Regions from separate parts of the Homo sapiens genome. Here region 2 is linked to region 1. Evidence: promoter capture Hi-C in 16 types of primary human blood cells and fetal thymus (Javierre and others, 2016). All regions are on one chromosome and are shown on one strand. The core of a region is centred on a gene start or on the middle of the fragment in contact, and the rest is flanking DNA. Distances in the headings are between cores, read along the strand shown. Region 1 holds the start of TGM5 (transglutaminase 5). Region 2 overlaps STARD9 (StAR related lipid transfer domain containing 9).

Evidence for each region. Contacts are between HindIII fragments. The CHiCAGO score rates a contact against its expected background, and 5 or more counts as called.
Region 2: a contact is called between a fragment that was not itself captured here and the fragment with the promoter of TGM5 in region 1, in 1 of 17 cell types (activated CD4 T cells). The highest score is 5.2, in activated CD4 T cells.

Annotation. Positions count from the first base shown.
Region 1 is chr15:43,265,531-43,268,474 of GRCh38, forward strand. TGM5 (transglutaminase 5) reads right to left here and starts at 1,398. Exons shown (of 13, transcript NM_201631.4): 1 at 1,310-1,398. The coding sequence starts at 1,319. It also overlaps the pseudogene ATP5PDP1. The HindIII fragment of the contact is 1,714 bases long and covers 729-2,442 here.
Region 2 is chr15:42,693,350-42,696,293 of GRCh38, forward strand. STARD9 (StAR related lipid transfer domain containing 9) reads left to right here. Exons shown (of 33, transcript NM_020759.3): 23 at 1-993; 24 at 1,179-1,376; 25 at 1,791-1,974; 26 at 2,394-2,531. Among named protein-coding and RNA genes, the nearest start is that of CDAN1, 42 kb to the right of the region's middle. The HindIII fragment of the contact is 2,958 bases long and covers 27-2,944 here.

The sequences.
Region 1 (2,944 bases), core at 148-2,647:
TAAGACAGGAATGACTCTTCAGCCCAGGTGCCATCTATTCAAATAGGAGGTTCATTGACTACTGGGCATATTTGTTTTCCTTGAGGTGAGAGGAGAATGGGGTGAGATGATCAGGAAATAAACAGAAGACTGTAGAAAGAACTTTTAAAGTAAGTGATCTTAGTAGTTATCCTAGAGAGACACTCCCACGTGAGCACACAGAGGCATGGATAAGTATGTTCCTTGCAATATTGCTTGTGTAACCGGAAAATTGAAAACAACCTAAATGCCCATCAATAGGGGACAGGATTAGAAATTACTTGCACTGATACTATGAGAAATATTGAGGTAGATCTATAGGTACTGACTGGCATGGACAGAGCTCCCAGACATACTGTGGAGTGAAAAAAATCAAGTTGTAGAAATATACATACAATATGATGATACCATGGATATACCAAAAAAGACCACACATGCTAATCCTATGTATTACATTGAGTAAATGTATGTCTGAGTGTAAATGTGCAGACAAAAGACAGGTAACAGTGTTTACTCTGGAGATGAGGCTGCCATTGGGGATGGCGGGCAGAGGACTATAGCTTTATCTATAATTATTTATTTATTTTACTCCAACTATGTATTCCCATATTTCTTGTGCAATTAAAAGTTATGAAAATTTTAAAACAAAAATTTAAACACAAAAAGTAATAAATAAAGGTAAGGTTGTTACAGTTGTAGAGGAAGTTGAAAGCTTATTCCTCTAAATGATTTCAACTAACGATTTAATCTTCACAGCAACTCTTTCCAGAGTGAGGGGGATGATATAGAGAGAAGGTTGGTGATGGGAAGATTAGCTAAGATCAGTAATAGACCTTCTGAAATGGAGGAAGAAGAGAAGATATGAAGATTCAGAGAACTTAAGAGCTGGAAGACAATTTCAAGATTGTCTGGTCCAATCCCTCCTTTTTCAGGCAAGGGGGTTGGAAACTAGAGGCGAAGTGACTTGTCCAATGTCAAAGGGTCAGCTAGTAGCAGAGAAGGACAGAAACCCTGACCCCCTCATCTCTGGCCCTGCCCTGTCCCACCTGGCTATGGAGGCAGGCATGTTAGCAAGCAGCTGTGTGCTGTGTTTACCTGTCTGCCTCTACGCTGTCTCCTGGTTCTCAAGCCACCAATGAATACTGAGGTTTCTGGGATTCTTGCTTTTCCTGCCTCAGTTCTGTATTTACTTCTTTATTTCTCTGAATCCACCCTCCACCCCTTGACTTCCTACAGTCTCTCTCTGTCCTTCTTATCCCTGAACTCCAGTGGCCACAGGGGCTTTCCCTACCTTGGGCCATGGTAGCTGCCTCCGGTTCCTGGGATGCTCCCCACAGAACAGCTGGGCGGTCTGGAGCTTCAGCAAACTGGTGCCAGAGTGTCTACTTCCCCTTCCATTGGAAGCCTCCAGGAGAACCGAAGGCGGGGCTGGACTGCTGCACTGCCACCTGATTACCGAGCAGATCACAACTGGTTTGCTCACTTGCCCTCAGGTTTTTCTTGGCAGTGTTGCTGAATTGAAAGGAGGTGTGGAGGCTGATGAACTGTCACAGCCTTATGCCGTGTGGGCCTTTGATAGCTCTTGAGCAATAGGGCATTCCCAGGGAGGTGCTGTGCTGTGGTGGAGAAGTCAGGAGGGAGAAGCGAGCTGATGGGCCCGCCAGAGGGATGCAGGGGGCTGCTGGAAGGAGCATCAGGGTCCCAAGACTCTGCTCACAGCTTAAAGCACCTCATTGAGCCGAGAACCCTGCTAGGTAACCAAGGCCTCTCTTTTATCCTGAAAAGTCACTTCCTGAACATTAAATGCAAACAGAACCCTCTCTGTCTGGATCTCCTTCGGTATGATTTCACTGTATTTAGCTTTGGCAGTGGCATTGTCTTGCATGAGACCTGGCAGGTCCAAGACAAATCACAAATAAAAGCAAATAATCACAAATAAAATAGAGGAAGAAAAATTGGGAAGATTTGTGGAGGAGGTGTGGAAATAGGTGAGAGGGTGGGAATGCCGGTGAGCAAGGGCCTTGATCCTAGTAAGAAAGGCACAAGCCCTTTCATAGGGAGAAAAGCGCAGGTGGAAGGAGAGAGAGGGCAGGAGGGGGAAGGGCTCTGCCTGTGGAGTGGGTGGGACCCCCATGCCTACCCTGTCTTTCTGTGCTCTGGGGCACTTCTCCCCACATCCCCTGCTTTCTGGGTCCTTCTCCCTGGGGAACCTCTTTCACCAGCATTGTCCTCCCTCCTGTATTTTCAATTCTCTCTGTCCCCACTCAGCTCTTTTTTAAAACCTATGTAATTATTTTTATTTTTAATGTCCAGAATGTGTACTATAAGGGCCAGGGCTTCTTCCTGGACTTAATTTTATAAATTCTTGATTGGTTGGTGAGACCAATAGCGATACTTTTTCTTGTCTAATTTGGTTTCCGGGAAAGCTTCGTTCAAGTCGTCAATGGTCATCTGATCAAATGGTATTAAGTTCCTCATCTTCTCCAGCTGTTTCTCATATTCTCCAACCTGGCCTTTGAGAGAGACACCCACTCAGCACAAGTTTTCCCATCTTCTTTTTCTTCAGCATCCACCTGGGCAGTATATTTATCCTCTGGTACAGGAAGCTTCAGGACATTAAACTTCTTCTCAAAGTCATCCACCAAGCCTGCCTTGGCCACATTGGCCTTGTAGTAAGTCCAGTCAATAGCTGGTGGATTCTCAGGTAAAGTAGCCAGCCTGGAGGTGAGGGTCTCATTCCAGGATTTCAGATAATTAGCAATGGCCTTTTGGTTTTGGGGTATCATCTCTGCAAAAGCTACCCAGTCAATGGTTTTTAGAGCAAGTTTTCACCCAGCCATCTTGGTATACTTCACTGACCATGGCAGCCCATGGCCCACACCCCACTCACCTCTTATAGGGTATATGTGCACAAATGCAGTTCACT
Region 2 (2,944 bases), core at 256-2,755, 570 kb before region 1:
AACTCACCCTGTTGAAGGCCACCAGAAGCTTGACTCCAGCCCAGACCCTGTTGATGCCCCAAGGACTCCAATGGATAATTATTCCCAAACCACTGACGAGTTAGGTGGCTCCCAGAGAGGTAGAAGTTCCTTACAAAGGAGTAATGGGAGATCCTTCCTTGAGTTGCACTCCCCACACAGCCCACAGCAGAGTCCAAAACTCCAATTTAGTTTCTTAGGGCAGCACCCTCAGCAGCTTCAGCCCAGGACAACTATCGGGGTCCAAAGCAGACTGCTGCCACCACCACTGAGGCACAGGAGCCAAAGGCTGGGCAACAGCTTTGTGCCTGAGAAGGTGGCTTCCCCGGAGCATTGCCCACTGAGCGGTAGGGAGCCAAGTCAGTGGCAGAGCAGGACAGAAAATGGAGGTGAGAGTTCAGCATCTCCAGGGGAACCACAACGCACTCTGGACCGACCTTCTTCATGGGGAGGCCTCCAGCACCTCAGCCCCTGCCCTGTCTCTGAGTTGACTGATACTGCAGGGCTCCGAGGTTCTGCCTTGGGCCTCCCTCAGGCCTGCCAACCTGAGGAGTTACTGTGCTTCAGTTGCCAGATGTGCATGGCCCCTGAGCACCAGCACCACAGTCTGAGGGACCTCCCGGTGCATAACAAATTTAGTAACTGGTGTGGGGTTCAGAAGGGCTCACCTGGGGGGTTGGACATGACTGAGGAGGAGCTGGGGGCCAGCGGTGATCTCAGCTCTGAAAAGCAGGAACAGAGTCCCCCACAACCTCCTAATGACCACAGCCAGGATTCTGAGTGGTCCAAGAGGGAGCAGATCCCCCTGCAAGTTGGGGCCCAGAACCTCTCACTCAGCGTGGAACTCACAGAAGCGAAACTGCACCATGGCTTTGGGGAGGCCGATGCCCTGCTCCAGGTGCTGCAGAGTGGGACAGGGGAGGCGCTTGCTGCTGATGAACCTGTGACATCCACCTGGAAGGAGCTCTATGCACGGTAAGGACCCCCAGCCTGGAGTCGGGAGGGGAAGGGGTGGGCTGTGAGGAAAGAGAACCCAAGAAAGCTAATAGCTTGCTGTTTCCTCTGCCCTGGTTCATCTCTGGGATCTTCCAGGGGTCAGAGATAGATCTTAAAGTGAAGGACATTCAGGGCCAGCTTCAGCGAATCGTGTTTTGCCTCAGGCAAAAAAAGGCCATTGAGACCCTCAGGAGAGAGCGGGCTGAGCGACTTGGGAACTTCTGCCGGACGCGAAGCCTTAGCCCTCAGAAACAACTGAGCCTCCTGCCCAACAAAGATCTCTTCATCTGGGATCTTGACTTGCCCAGCAGACGCCGAGAATACCTGCAGCAACTGAGGAAGGATGTTGTGGAGACCACCAGGTAGTGTGGACCGAGAACCCTGCTGGGAGCAGGCTCTGTTGGGGGAGGGGAGTATGGGGAGCAGGAGCTGAAGTTTTAGCATCCTGGAGGGTTCTCTATAGGAGACAGGGTAAATGGAAAGAGGACATAGAAGGGAATGGAATGAGGGAGGGGGTGGGCAGAGAGAAGGCACAGGAAATGATGGACAGAAGGGCTCTGACATGCTATGCAAGTCTGCAGGCCTGGGTCTCAAGGTGGCTTGGTTCTCTCTGTCCAGCAACCTCTCCTGAGGCTAAAAAATCATACTTTAAAACCCTGTGGGCAAATGGAGGTTGGGTCTTTTAAGAAGGTGGTATCACCCAAGCTAGCCTTGGATGGACAGACCAGGACTGTCACCCACCCACCATGTTCTTTCCACCCCGTGATCTTCCTCAGGAGCCCAGAGTCAGTGTCAAGGTCAGCTCACACACCCTCTGACATAGAGTTGATGCTGCAAGACTACCAGCAGGCCCATGAGGAGGCCAAGGTGGAGATTGCCCGGGCCCGAGACCAACTGCGGGAGCGGACTGAACAAGAGAAGCTGAGAATCCACCAGAAGATCATTTCCCAGCTATTGAAGGTGTGGAGTGGGGCATGCCTCTGATTTCAGGATAGGCCTGGACCTCAGACTGGTACACCTTCACCGTGGCCGCCTCTGAGTCTTGGGACATACGTAACATTTGGAGGAGGCTGTGGGACCCCTGTTGTCAACTCAAAGCTGGGCTCACTGTCTTTTTACATCATCACACCAGCTCCTTTCCCCAGGCCACGGCCTGGGAGGAAGAGGCTTTGGTGTGAGGTGCAGGGTGTGGGGAAATACGAGCAGTGGTGGCTTTAAGGAAGCCAGGGCATGTGAGGCTAAGTCAGGGAGGCCCTGGGAGGTGGGTGAAGGAGCAGTAGAGGTGAGCAGGGAAGGGGTGGCTTTGGGTAGGAAAAGGCGTGGCCTGGGGAAAGTGAGGGTGCATCAGAAGCTGGTTAATGGTGATTTGTCCTTCCCAGGAAGAGGATAAACTACATACCTTGGCCAATTCCAGCTCCCTGTGCACCAGCTCTAATGGAAGCCTCTCGTCTGGCATGACCTCTGGCTATAATAGCAGCCCAGCCTTGTCAGGCCAGCTCCAGTTCCCAGAGAATATGGTGAGTAGGCAGATGTTGGGAATGAGCCAGGGGCCTGGACTGCCAAGGCAAGAGTTTGAGCAGGACGCTGTGCCTCCTGGAGTTTGGGCAAGACGCCGTGCCTCCTGGAGGCCACTGCTGACATGAGCCCTTCTTATGTGCAGGCCTTTGGTTTTCCATTTAGTTCTGCCCCCTGCTCCTTCTGTTCATTCATTCAACAAATGTTTATTCTGTGGGTATTATTTTAGGATACAGCGGTGAGCAAAACTGTTCTTGTCCTTAGACTGTTTGAGGGATAAATATTAAACAACTGATTTTATTGTTTAGTTATTGTTGCAGTAAATTGTTTGAAGGCGGGTTGCTAAACCAGCATAAAACCAGGGGTCTGACTTAGTCTAGAAGGTCATAGAGATACTCCGAACAGAATGTGTTTA